Linked DNA regions of Homo sapiens: region 2 is linked to region 1. The links are contacts of gene promoters, found by promoter capture Hi-C in blood cells and fetal thymus (Javierre and others, 2016). All regions are on one chromosome and are shown on one strand. The core of a region is centred on a gene start or on the middle of the fragment in contact, and the rest is flanking DNA. Distances in the headings are between cores, read along the strand shown. Region 1 holds the start of HUS1 (HUS1 checkpoint clamp component). Region 2 overlaps PSMA2 (proteasome 20S subunit alpha 2).

Evidence for each region. The method cuts DNA at HindIII sites, captures the fragments that hold promoters and counts their contacts. A CHiCAGO score of 5 or more calls a contact.
Region 2: a fragment that was not itself captured here is called in contact with the fragment with the promoter of HUS1 in region 1 in 3 of 17 cell types (total CD4 T cells, fetal thymus and naive B cells); the score reaches 9.1 in total CD4 T cells.

The regions. Positions count from the first base shown.
Region 1 is chr7:47,977,237-47,984,277 of GRCh38, forward strand. HUS1 (HUS1 checkpoint clamp component) reads right to left here and starts at 2,379. Exons shown (of 8, transcript NM_004507.4): 1 at 2,232-2,379; 2 at 1,453-1,580; 3 at 1,181-1,357. The coding sequence starts at 2,283. LOC105375270 (a long non-coding RNA gene) reads left to right here and starts at 5,206. Exons shown (of 3, transcript XR_927251.3): 1 at 5,206-5,899; 2 at 6,982-7,041. RefSeq lists silencers at 1,900-1,949, 2,030-2,089 and an enhancer at 2,160-2,449. The HindIII fragment of the contact is 1,329 bases long and covers 1,556-2,884 here.
Region 2 is chr7:42,919,037-42,926,161 of GRCh38, forward strand. PSMA2 (proteasome 20S subunit alpha 2) reads right to left here. Exons shown (of 8, transcript NM_002787.5): 4 at 5,639-5,761; 5 at 4,289-4,370; 6 at 2,822-2,895. It also overlaps the pseudogene LOC105375252. Among named protein-coding and RNA genes, the nearest start is that of PSMA2, 9.6 kb to the right of the region's middle. The HindIII fragment of the contact is 5,758 bases long and covers 2,267-7,125 here.

The DNA of each region.
Region 1 (7,041 bases), core at 1,129-3,628:
AGCCATGGGAAGACAAGAACAAGGGGACAGGGTTTCAGGCTGGGGAAACAGCACATGTAAAGCCGTGAGGCAGAAAGAAGCAAGCCTGCTATGTTGACGCAACCAAGAGAAGGCCATTCTTTGGGCATAGGACACTCAGAGTGCTGCAGTTTCTAACAGTTAAAAGGCAAACTATATTTATTTCTAGGGGCTCCTATGAGACTCACAGACCAAAATATCTTGCACTTTTGGACAAAAAGTATTATACGTTACTATCTTGCTTTTCCTTAAGCAATAGAAAAAACATACCAAACTTATACTGTGACATGAAATGCCCTAATTAGCTCTGAGAACTGCCTGACTGCAAAGAGTTGAGAGTTATGAAGAAAAGCTGGGCTGGGCGCCGTGGCTCATGCCTACAATCGCAGCACTTTGGGAGGCCGAGGTAGGTGGATCACTTGACGTCAGGAGTTCGAGACCAGCCTGGCCAATATGGTGATACCCCGACTCTACTAAAAAAATACAAAAATTAGCTGGGTGTGGTGGTGGGTGCCTGTAATTCCAGCTACTCAGGAGGCTGAGGCATGAGAATCGCTTGAACCCGGGAGATGGAGGTTGCAGTGAGCCGAGATCGCGCCACTGCACTCCAGCCTGGGTGATAGAGAGACTCCGTCTCAAAAAAAAGGAAATACGAACCTCATTCTATGAGTAGGAAGAGCAACTCTGGATTGTATGTATGCGCATGAGTTTGTGTATTTGTGTGTTTGGAGGACAGCTGTGCACTAAATTCATCTGGCAGTAGCATATAAAACATACGTGTACTGAAGAACGAGGGGCCATTTAAAGGTTATTATAGCAGATGAGGCAGGGTGGGAGTGGGGAGAAAACATGTCAAAGGTGAAAATGGATAGAGAAACCATGATTTCTAGACAAGGTGACAATACCACTACAAGAAACAGAGAGGCTGGAAGTTTCACGGCTTGGAAAAAGCAGCATTCTAGCTGAATGCATATGATAACAACACAATTTTAAAATGAGGAGGAACTGACTCTAATGCAAAATATAGTTATGGACCAGATCTTTAAATTTAAATAAACCAAACAGCTTTCAACAGTATTTATTGTTAAAAAGGCTAGGCTAACTATGTCTATTCCTTCGAGGCCAAGACTTCTGTGTTAGAAACCCTGACTCTCCTACTCACCAGCTCCACGGAGACCGTGAGGCAGGGAAAGTGTTTATTAGTCAGTTTGATTTTCAAAGCCCTGGCATTCTGGGCAGTCTTCAAGGCTCGAGATAAGTTTTCCGATGTTAGCTCTAAATAAATCTCATTGTTTTCTGCAGAGACACCCTCCATTTGAAATTCGTTGAAGAAGTTCTCCTAAGGGAAAAAAAATGAGGGATGAGGGAGGGTATATGTGATCTTTCCAGTGACAATCTGCAGAGTGTGCAGGCCTCTCAGAAGCTTTTGCTCACCTGTTCCAGCTCACACCACATGCTCACTCCTCCATTAGCCAGCTTGTCACAAAGGATGAAGTTAAGCTTATCAGGGCTGATGCGGAGGGTGCAGGTTTTGGCAAGCTTGGCTATCATGTTACTGATTCCTAAAGCAGGGGTTAAAATAAGGAATTACTAAAATGCACATTATGTATCCTAGAGACCAACTTATTTTGCAGAATTTCTTGTTCATCAACTTCTCGGTGGAAAAATAACCACTTAACGTTGGTATCACACTGGAAAGTACTTTAATACCCCTGATGTCACGCAATTCTCCCAACAAACTAGGGGAGATGTACAGCACACATCATCAGTGTTCAAATAAGAAAACAGGCACCTACCAGTCATTCATTCATTCAACATGGATTTATTGACTACTAGGTACTGCAATACACAGTTAAATGCAAGGTTAGGCACTGTCAGGGTGGAGGGACGAATGGGGCCTTGAAGGTATGTCAATGCCTGATAAAGCCGTCTATGGGAGCAGTGGCCGCTTTTTTTTAAAGCCACGTGATCGGAATCAAGTTTCAGAAACGTCCCTTGAAAGCCGCCTTCATCCCCACAAGTGCCCTCCGACCCGCCCCGCGCCCTCCCGGCCCCACCCTCCCGCGGCCTACACCAGCACCCCCATCCCGGCCCCATCCTCCCGCGGCCCCTTCCGGCGCCCATCCCCGTTCTGATCCTCCTGCGCGGTCCCCACCGCGCGCTCACTGCTTCCTTCCGTTCCTCCCTCGCTCCTCTCCGGCCTCCCTGCTCACGTGTGAAGTGGTTCAGACAGGCCCCGTCCACGATCTTGGCCCGAAACTTCATGGCCGCGGATGGCGCAGCCGCGGCGGGCCTCTGTGGGTAACAGAAAAGCGTCGCGCCCTGAGTGTCCCCGCCCGGAAACACGGCAGCGCGAACAGTGGTTCCGCCCGGCTCGGGCTACGCGACTCTTACCAGGGTTATCTCCGGGCCACGCCCCGGAGGAGGTGGGGCTAGGGGGTCACGCCCTAGAGGAGGTGGGGTCACGGGTCAAGGATCACAGGTCACGCCCCGGGGGAGGTGGGGGTCCCAGTCTCCGGGTATGCCTCCGCGCTGCCGGGTAATGGTGGGATCTACTTTTAGTGAGGCGGAGGCTTCAAGCCCCAGATTCGGGGAGGTTGTTCTGAGAATTCACGTTTTGAAAGAATTTTGTGACACCTATTTCAAGTGTTATTTTAAAATATCCAAATAAAATTAATCGTTTATAAAGGTTAAACAATATTATCTTAAATATACCTAAGGTAGAGCAGCTTTAAACCCTCCAGCCTCAGATGACGGTACTGGTACTTTGGTATTGAAGCATCTTGGTGGATTAAGGTTCTGAAAATTGTTTCAAATGACTTCTAAAAAAATTGAACATATTACTGGCTAGTTGGTAAAGTCGGGAAGCTTAAAGAACACTGACGTTAAGTGATAATTCTGCAGTTTGCCTCAAGACGAACTTTATTACATCCGATAAAATTCTTATTAGCATAAATAATGTCATTAGGATTTTTTTTAAAGGAAAAATTTTAAAGGGGGAAATGAAGCAACAATTGTATCTAATTTGGTTTTTCAAAGACTAAAGATTATCTGTGTTAACAATTGTTATTTTTAATGTCCTTTGCAAATAGACTAGAACCTTGTCTTTAACTTGACACATAGAATCAAGATAATGATAATGCAGATGATGATGATGATGATTTTGAGACGGAGTCTGGCTCTGTCGCCCTGGCTGGAGTGCAATGGCGTGATCTTGGCCCACTGCAACCTCCACCTCCCGGGTTCGAGGGATTCTCCTGCCTCAGCTTCCCAAGTAGTTGGGATTACAGGCACAAGCTACCATGCCCGGCTAATTTTTGTATTATTAGTAGAGACGGGGTTTCGCCATGTTGGCCAGGCTGGTCTCGAACTCCTGACCTCAGGTGATCTGCCCACCTCGGCCTCCCAAAGTGCTGGGATTATAGGCGTGAGCCACCGCGCCAGGCCCAGATAATTTTCAAAGACACATGCACACATATGTTTATTGTGGCACTATTCACAATAGCAAAGACTTGGAACCATCCCAAATGTCCATCAATAATAGACTGGATAAGGAAAATGTGGCACATATACACCATGGAATACTATGCAGCCATAAAAAAGGATGAGTTCATGTCCTTTGCAGGGACATGGATGAAGCTGGAAACCATCATTCTCAGCAAAATATCACAAGGACAGAAAACCAAACACCGCATGTTCTCACTCATAAGTGGGAGTTGAACAATGAGAACACATGGACACAGGGAGGGGAATATCACACACTGGGGCCTGTTGGGGGGTGGAGGCCTGGGGGAGGGATAGCGTTAGGAGAAATACCTAATGTAAATGATGAGTTGATGGGTGCAGCACACCAACATGGCACATGCATACCTATGTAACAAATCTGCACGTTGTGCACATGTACCCTAGAACTTAAAGTGTAATAATAATAAAAAGGTGCAAAATACAAAAATTGCAGTTTTTGCCTATTTTAAGACTATAACATGAAGCAAAATTCTAATCTTCATTGTCATATGCGAGTGTTTGCCAAACCAAACTTAATAGATCACTTTCAAAGTTATGCCAACAGGCAGGGCAGGATGGCTCTCTCCTGTAATCCCAGCATTCTGGGAGGCCGAGGCGGGTGGATCATCTGAGGTCAGGAGTCTGAGATCAGCCTGGCCAACATGATGAAACCCCGTCTCTACTAAAAATACAAAAATTAGCCCGGCGTGATAGCTTGTGCCTGTAATCCCAACTACTCAGGAATCTGAGGCAGGAGAATCACTTGAACCCAGGAGGCGGAGATTTCAGTGAACAGAGGTCTGCCACTGCACTCCAGCCTGGGCGACAGAGCGAGACTCCGTCTCAAAAAAAAAAAAAAATGTTGGCATAACTCTTTTTTTTTTTGGAGACGGAATCTCGCTCTGTCGCCCAGGCTGGAGTGCAGTGGCGCAATCTCGGCTCACTGCAAGTTCCGCCTCCCGGGTTCACGCCATTCTCCTACCTCAGCCTCCCGAGTAGCTGGGACTACAGGCGCCCGCCACCACGCCCGGCTAATTTTTTGTATTTTTAGTAGAGACGGGGTTTCACCGTGTTAGCCAGGATGGTCTCGATCTCCTGACCTCGTGATCCGCCCGCCTCGGCCTCCCAAAGTGCTGGGATTACAAGCGTGAGCCACTGAGCCCGGCCATGCCAACATTTTTTATTTGCCCCATATGATCTGCAGGAAAAAGCCTGTTTTTTAATTTCCTCATGAATGAGTTTTGAAGAGTTGAGCATCACATTAAATAAAGTGGCTGCTAGTAGATAAATGAATATAATTAAAGAATGTATCTAAATAAACTTTGTAAACAATGTTTTGTAACATCTTGATCTTTAGTGTAAATTGCTTAATTTTATGTCATAAAAACTGATAAAGCAATTTTTTAAACTTCCTAAGAAGATGTGATATGATACATTCTGCATGGACAAAAGCCCAAATAATATAGGAATTTGACTCAAGAAATAGAAAATAAAGCTGCAATTATCTTTTCTTGGAAGAAGAAAGGAATCTTTTATGTGCTCTTGCAATTTTCTTAAACAGGTTTAGCAAATTAATTCATTAACTTCAGAATTGACAATTAAGTATATTGACACTACTTCTCTACTTTCCAAATGATTTTGAGGCAAGGAATGTGATCTCTAGAGATTTCTAGAAGCCCCATGTACCACTGAGTTTTCTAATGCAATGTATATTCATGTTCTCATCTAGCTACAGTAAATTGCCTTCTGACTTAAGAACTGCCAAATGTCAGGGATTAGTAATTCAGTCACACAATGATTTGGGAAACAGTGTTCACGCTGTTCATTAAGTTTGTTTAGTGGGGAGGTAAATGCCTTAATCTTGTCTTAGAAACTGAAATAAACAGTGGTGCAAATAAAATGTCATTCAGGATGCATATAGTTGGAAGTAAGGGAAATAACCTCTCTACAGCTGCAGATGGTAAACTCTGTCTAGGTAAGTATTTGGCCAGTCTCTTTCAGGTACTTACTCATCTTCTCTAGTCCCTGGGGGAAGAGACAGCAATTTGCAGCCCTGTTGTTAGCAGTTAATGTTGGAAAAATTACCCAAGGGAAACAACGTGACTAGCTCACATGTTACGCATCAAATTTGAAAGGCAGTATTTGTCTTCTTTTTTTAACATGAGAAAACTGTAAAATGAAGGAAAGCATACCCTAGAGGTGGCATGAGTGAATGTCTTTTGACAACTGTACTTGTTCTAAGAGATGGGTTTTTGCTTAAGCAGCTCTTCAAAGACTCTTCTCCTCTTTTAGGTGTCAAAAAAATTCTTCAATAAATTCCATAGATACTTTTCTAAATGAAGATTTGTGGAGCACATGAGAAGTGTCAGGCATGGTGGTGAGTGATGGGGATTAAGGAAGGGGACCAGCCCCTACTCAAGAGGAGGGTGATCAACATTTATTGGATGCCTTTAAAGCACTATTTAAATATTATTGATCAGTAGGGTGAGATAGATAGCTCTCATTTTATAGCACTCTGCACTGATATCATCACTTAGATAATATAAACACACGTAAAATAAGTATGATTATTCCCATTTTATTTTATTTTATTTTATTTTAGATGGAGTCTTGCTCTTGTTGCCCAAGCTGGAGTGCAATGGTGCAATCTCGACTCACTGCAACCTCTGAGTCCTGGGTTCAAGTGATTCTTTTGCCTCAGTCTACCGAGTAGCTGGGATTACAGGCACCTGCCACTACACCCAGACCATTTTTTGTATTTTTAGTAGAGATGGGGTTTCACTGTGTTGGCCAGGCTGGTCTCAAACTCATGACATCAGGTGAGCTGCCTGCTTCAGCCTCCCAAAGTGCTGGGATTACAGGTGTGAGCCACAATGCTCGGCCTATTATTCCCATTTTAAAGATGGGGACAGATAGAATTGGCAATGTTGGCCATGGCATGCCCTACCTCACACTCTTGATGAGAATCTGCATCACTGGATTGCTGAGTGTCCAGTGACCCACATGCTCCTGCTGACTGGACCAGCTCTATTTACACTTGACCTTCAGGAAAACAATTGATAGTGTGGAAATAAATGAAGACCAACCAAATGGAACAGGCAAAGCCTATTTATTCAGAGTCAGCCATTATCACTTGCATTTCAGCAGAGACTCAAAGGCAGGCAGAGAGGTAGGAACGCTTCATAGTGGAAAAGGAAGGAGAGTATAGTGAAGTAACAGAAGAGGTTACAGAGCATGTTTATTTACCAGCTAAAGCTAAAGTGGCAAAGGAAGGAGAGGTTCATCCCTACCCTTCTGCACCCCCTTATTTCCTCCTGGGAAATATTACTGATGAATAACATTTTATATACGGCATTTTGCACATGGTAAGTTTTTTAGTCAAAGGATATATTCATCTCGATTTTTATAGATAGGCCAAGTTCCCTCCATAAATGTTATACCTATTTGCATTTCTTCCAGCAACGTGTGAGAGATCCTGTTTCCCCAAAGCCTTGGAATAAAACATTATCAAACTTTTGG
Region 2 (7,125 bases), core at 3,896-6,395, 5.1 Mb before region 1:
TGGTCTCGAACTTCTGACCTCAGGTGATCCGCCTGCCTTGGCCTCCCAAAGTGCTGGGATTACAGGCGTGAGCCACTGCGCCTGGCCAGTCTTATGAGTATTTCTAAATCAGTGCTTGCAAAGACGGCAAACCTATGCTATGCCAGGGAGATACAGGAGACTGGATTGGAACAATTTTGGGTCATAAAGATGCTGTCTGGAATGCAACACTGAATAAGGATGCCACCAAAGCAGCCACAGCAGCTGCAGATTTCACAAAGTGTGGGATGCTATCCCAGGAGATGAACTGATGACCCTGGCTCATAAACACATTATCAAGACTATGGATTTCATGCAGGATAGTAATTATTTGTTAACCAGGGGACAGAATAAACTGTTTTGCATATATGACTTGAACAAACCCGAAGCAGAACCTGAGGAAATTAGTGATCACAGCTCTGATATTAAAAAGGCCCTATGGTACAGTGAGGATAAACAGATTCTTTCTTCTGATGACAAAACTGTTAAGACTTTGGGATCATGCTACTATGACAGAAGTGAAATCTCTAAATTTTATTATGTTGGCTAGTAGTATGGAATATATTTCTGAGGGAGAGATTTTGGTAATAACTTATGGCTGATCCAGTGCTTTTGACAGTACAGTAAGTTTGGAACCAATTAAATCCTTTCAAGCTCCTGCAAACATTAACTCTGAATCTCTTCACCTTGAGAAAGAATTTCTTGTTGCAGGTGGTGAAGATGTTAAACTTATAAGTATGATGATAATAGTGGAGAAGAATTAGAATCCTACAAAGGACACTCTGGTCCTATTCACTGTGTGAGATTTGATCCTGATGGAGAACTCTATGCCAGTGGTTCTGAAGATGGAACACTGAGACTGGCAAACTGTGGTAGGAAAAACATATGGCCTTTGGAAATGTGTGCTTCCTGAAGAAGATACTGGTGAGCTGGCAAAGCCAAAGATTGGTTTTCCAAAGACAAGAGAAGAGCTAGAAGAAATTGCTTCAGAGAATTCAGATTCCATCTATTCTTCAACTCCTCAAGTTAAGGCCTGAACATCAAGCATGTGCCACAGACAGCATACAACTGGACTAGAACGAGCAAGCAGAGAAAAGCATCAGCCTTCCAGAGTTACTCTCTGCTTAAGGCAAAAACAGCAATAAATAATGAGGAATATGAATTAGCTCCATTGCTGAAACAACTAACATGGTGTTACCCATAAGTGAAATCTCAAGAGTATCAGATGAAGGGAGGTTGAGTTATCCTCTTGTAGTACAATGGCCTGTCATCTTTTTAATGAATATGTACAAGATAACATCCAACTTCTCTTATTACAATTAAGAGTTCTTGCAGCTGTTTATGTCATTATGGAGAAGAAAAATATATTGGCTTATTTGTCTGACTTTTCCCTTAAAGCAGAATGTCTTTGTTGCTATTGTTTTTTGCTTTGGTTGTAAAGAGGGAATACATGATAAAGTAACTGGTTTAATTTCTTTCATTGTACACTGGTTCTGAACATCTAATTATTTTTAGTTGTCTAAATAAAATGCCTCTGAAACAAAAAATAAAACAAATCATAACATATCATGTAATAACAATGTGAAATCTTTGGAAGACTCATTAATATATAAAAGAAAAATGAAAAAGTGCTTTAAGAGCCTAAGATTAAGTTTACCATTTAAATCCAGGCCTAAGATTTTTAATAACCTTAACGTTACGTGAAAAATGTACTGTGAAGGCTCATCTGTTAAACGGAGTTACGAAGTTTTTTATTATTATTCAGCCATAAAAAAATGAAATCCTGTCATTTGCAGCAACATGGATGGAACTCGAGGTCATTACGTTAAGCAAAATAAGCCAGGCACAGAAAGATAAATATTGCATGTTGTCACTCATATGTGGGAGCTAAAAAAGTGGATCTCATGGAGGGAGAGAGTAGCACAGTGGTTACCAGAGGCTGGGAAGGGAGAAGGGAAGAAGAACTGAAGGAAGTTGGTTAAGGGGTCTAAAAATACGGTCAGACAGGAGGAATAAGTTCTGGTGTCCAGTAGTACAGTCAGGAAATTATCGTTAACAATTTACTGTATATTTCAGAACAGCTAGAAGATCTGCTATGTTCCCAACACAAAGAAAAGACAGATGTTTGAGGTAATGGATATCCAATTACCCTGATTTGACACTGTATACAGGTATCAAAATATCACATGTACTGCAAAAATATGTGCAACTATTACATATCAAGAAATAAAACATTTTCTTCTTCAAAAGCTTGGAGAGTCCCGAAGGACTACAGTAACACTGAGACTAGAATACAGCTGGAAATAAGTAAGAGCAGCTTGTACTTGGGCACCGACAGATTTTTACATAGTGCTCCACTTTTTATCAAGCACATGTATCAAATATTTAATATACCTTCAACTCCAGGCATTTGGTTTCACAATTTTTTTTACTGTCGTAAACTGTTATCATTAAATCATTTAAAAATTTGTCTCCCCAAATGTTTTATTCCAGATTCAATGTTCTTTTTTTTCCCTCCTGAAATGGCACAAAAAGTGAAGTAAAAAGTAAAAAAACCAAAAGCATTTAGGAAACCATAGAATGTAGAAAGAGAACTCCTTAGGAAATGAATATTAATTACCACTTAATATACTGAAGTCTAGGAAACTAGAAGGGAGAGAAGTTTTTGGTTTATCTGTAACTAGATTCATATACAGAGTAATATAGCAAGTTTCTTTAGTCCCATGATATTAATTTACTTAAAGAGCACCAAAAACCATAAAGTGAGTTTGCTAAAGAATGCAGTTACAATGAGTAGGCCTACCTTTTCTCAAGGAAAGTCTTCCCATTCACATAGTTCTTTCCCATTGCTGTAGCTTTCCAGGCAAAGTAAGCTCCCTAATCAGGAAAGAAAGAGTAAAAAACCATATTTTAAAACACAAATACAATTATATTGCCCTGCCATTTAATTTTTAGCTTTATTAATTGTTCTCTAACTTCGAAGGTCACAGAATATTATTAGAATGGAAAACGTCACAGAATAGGTTATTTTTTAAGAAGGCTAGAAGGATGGAAACCAAAAAGGCATGAAGAAACTTTTGGAGGTTCTGGAAATTTTTGATATCCTCATTGTAGTAATGGTTTCTTCAGGCATTTACATATATCAGAACTCATCAAACTGATGAGCTGGTGATGATGCAATTAAGTGTAAAATTATGTAAAAAATCCAGTTAAAAGAAATTGAGGTTAACTTAAAGCAAATAATCAAGAGTAGTATTTTAGTTTAATAGACTGAAGCGATTTAAAAATCTATCATATAAATCTGAAAAATGGTGATCAACTCTTGATCATTAGTGAATTAAAAAGAGAGCATCTCATTAGAAAAAAATACCAAAAGAAACATAATCCAATATGTTTTAAATGAAAACAATTGTTTTTTAGACACAACAGAGGAAAATAGGACAAAAGATAAAATCAGGATTCCAGAAATGGTGGCTTCTGCTACCTTCTGGAAAGGAAGATAAGAGGGCCTGTCATTTAGCTTTGGAAGCTCAGAGATGGAGTAACAACACTATCAAAGTTCCCAAAATACTTATTTTTCTGATTTAATTAACAACCAAAATATTTTTCTTTTGCCATCTCAGGTTATAAAAGTAGATTATAAGGTTTGCATTGAGTGAACCTGTAATTATCTAATAATCCATAAAACATGAAAGATCATTTCCTAATCTTGAATTTTGTCTTAAGGTTCTCATAGCAAATGGGACAGATGTGGAGTAGTATTATCCATTACAAACACCTTCTATTCAGATACCATTCTTCTGCATTAGAGCAGACAACTTACCCAAGGTACCAATTACACAATCATTTTTGCAAAACACTGAATTCAAGATAAATTAATGTTTTTGCTGGAAAACTCACTCAAGTCAGCCCCAAGATTCAACTGATGGCAAACACTACAACACTGTCCTCCAGATCCACATCTTCAATTGCAGTATTTCCCGAAGTAACAGGTTTAAATACATTTGATAACTATTTCAACAAATCACCCAAGTGTATGAAGTTAATGAACATGGCAAAAGAGGGTAGAACTAATACAGCTTCCTTATCAGAAGACCAAATTACCAAAATTTTAAATATACACACAAAAATGCACAACCTCATACTTTCTAAAGCCCAAGAGAAAAGAAGAAAATACTGCTAAATTGTAAAGTTTTTATGGCTTCTATTTCTGTTAGATATTCAAAGAGCACTTTTAACAAATCCCTCAAATACATTAAATGATACTTACAGATGGATCTGACTGAAATAAATATGGTCGTCCCTCATTCCAACCACAAATAAGTAAAGAAACTCCAAATGGACGAACACCACTGCAGGGAGGAAAATGAAAATTACTTGGCATTTTCATGGTGTTAAAGTCATCCTCAAGAATTTATCAGTACTCTCAAATAAAGCAAATTATCAGGCAAACTGAATTAGACTTTTAAGTTCCTTAGAAAGTATTTAACACCTTTCTGAATGAATCAATTCAAAACTAATTCTCTTTATGGTAGTGAGGAATGGTAGCCAAATAAAAAAAAATTTGAATTGAACAGTGTTACCTAAGACACTGGGGTTAATAAGTGTGTAGTAACATTTAGTGTCCTAATAAAATGACAACTTTCAATTAATGCAGCTTTTCCACTAGGTTTACCTATTACAAAATGACAACTTTCAGTTAATGCAGCTTTTCCACTAGGTTTACCTATTACAAAATGACAACTTTCAATTACTGCAGCTTTTCCACTAGGTTTACCTATTACAAAATGACAATTTTCAGTTAATGCAGCTTTTCCACTAGGTTTACCTATTACAAAATGACAACTTTCAGTTAATGCAGCTTTTCCACTAGGTTTACGTATCAACAACTACCTATATGCTATCTCATCTACACCCAAACTTAAGAAACTGGGGAATGAAAAGAAATATGAATACGTCCAAGAGCTGCTTTCATCATGTGCTTACCATCATTTCTGGTTAGAAAGATAAATTTGAAAGTAGCGGCCAGGCACAGTCCCAACACTTTGGGAGGCCAAGACAGGCAGATCACTTGAGGTCAGGAGTTTGAAACCAGCCTGGCCAACATAGTGAAACCACATCTCTACCAAAAAAATACAAAAAAAAAAAAAAAATTAGCTAAGCATGGTGATGCACGCCTGTGGTGCCAGCTACTCAGGAGGCTGACGCATAATTGCTTGATCCCAGGAGGCAGAGGTTGCAGTGAGCCGGGATCATGCCATTGCACTCCAGCCTGGGCGACAGAGTGAGACTCTGACTCAAAAAAAAAAAAAAAAAAAAAAAAAAGAAAAATTTAAAGTTGCAATGATTGTCTGTCCATAAAGTGTTTTAATCACTGGCAAAAGAACTTTGTATATCTAGAAGCTGCTTTCTGCTGTTACATAAGCAACAAGAAAACACATTTTTTTCCTTAAATAAATACTCCAGAGCCAGATAAGATCAGAAATATTCATCATAGTGATTCTGTCCACTTGTTAAGCAAATACAGAAATGGTAAGTCCCACTCTATTTATATACCTACTCTTTAAAATAACTTCCCCCTACAATTCATGGCACATTTCAAGTAAAAAAAGCAACTTACCCTGACTGAGTATATTCTTGCATCACAGAAGCTACTCTCTGTACCAGCTGAGCTGTAGGAATGGGTTCTTGGTACACAAGATAGTATTGTTGAGCTAGTTTTCGAGCTCTGTGCACAAGCACTCTAACAAGGAAAAAATAAGATTTAATTACACAGAACATGCTCTACTACCTGAAGACTCATTCTCCTTTTACAGGCATGTACCTGCAGCACAAGTTTAACATGTATCTCTTTAATGGTGGCTATTGGATCAAAGCTAGTCTTACTCTAACACTGGATTCCAGTTGATATAGAAGAAAATATCAGAGCATCAGAGTACCAGTTAGCTTAAAAGTAACAGATTTAATGTACAAAAATGAGAACTTTATCTTGCTCCACGGCTTCTTCAAGACTGTACCCCCATCCAAGGGCAGCCGCTTGTCTTTTTACAGCTCACCCCAGCCCACACACACAAGCACACATAAACACACAGGCACACAATTCTGGGCATATTTTTCTCACTTCAGGTCACTACTTTCTGCAGACTGTTTCAATCTCTCTGCCTGTGCTTCACGGAGTACCCTTCAGAGATTAAGAAACAGTAAGAAACTACTTGTAACTAAAAATGTAAAATTCGGCTAGGTGCAGTGTTTCACGCCTGTAATCCCAACACTTTAAAAGGCTGAGGCAGGAAGATCACTTGAGGCCAGGAGTTTCAGACCTGCCTGGGCAAGACCCTGGGTTACTTTAAAGAGAATAACTCAGATGTGAAAGAGGAGGGAGATAGAGTACATAACTCCTCTTTTCTCTGTTTAATGGACTTTCCTTTCTGACATATTCCTCTTCTACTATACAGGAACTGGGCATAAGGCTTTAGTTTTCTCCAGTGCAGTTTAAAATGATAAAAGCAATACCCAGCATGACCCTGTCTCTTAAAATTTTTTTTCAGAAGTAAAATTTGTCAAAAGAGATTAAGAAGATATTATATAACAATCAAATATATTAGCAAGACAAATAGGATTTATCTTTGCCAGCTCATATACTACTGATCTGAAATATGCACATTTTCCCTCTGTGTGACAGTCATGTCCCATCCCTCAGTTTATCCTATCAGTGGCAGCACAATGCAGTATCCAGCCTATATAGTGGTGACAAGATTCACTGCCTGATCACATTCCACTGACCTTGTTGCGTTGATTCACTGAAGTGAAACTTTGCCTCTACCTATCTTGCTCCACAAAATCATGAGCAATAAAGTAATACTCCTTTTACTTGTTTAAATGACAGACACAGAAAGCTGTCAATCTCTTTCAACTTGCTGGTACCCTGAGTAACAAGATTATTCTCTCTTCCTGTGAAATATAAAGGGGGTGATTACACAAGCATTGGGATCCTGGTTGGCTGCCACACTCAACAACTTGCAGTGGTGTTTGAGAATTTTGTTCCTTTGTGAAGAACAGGAAAAAAGATAACTCTGGATAGTGATACTTTCTTTTGTTGCCTCATAC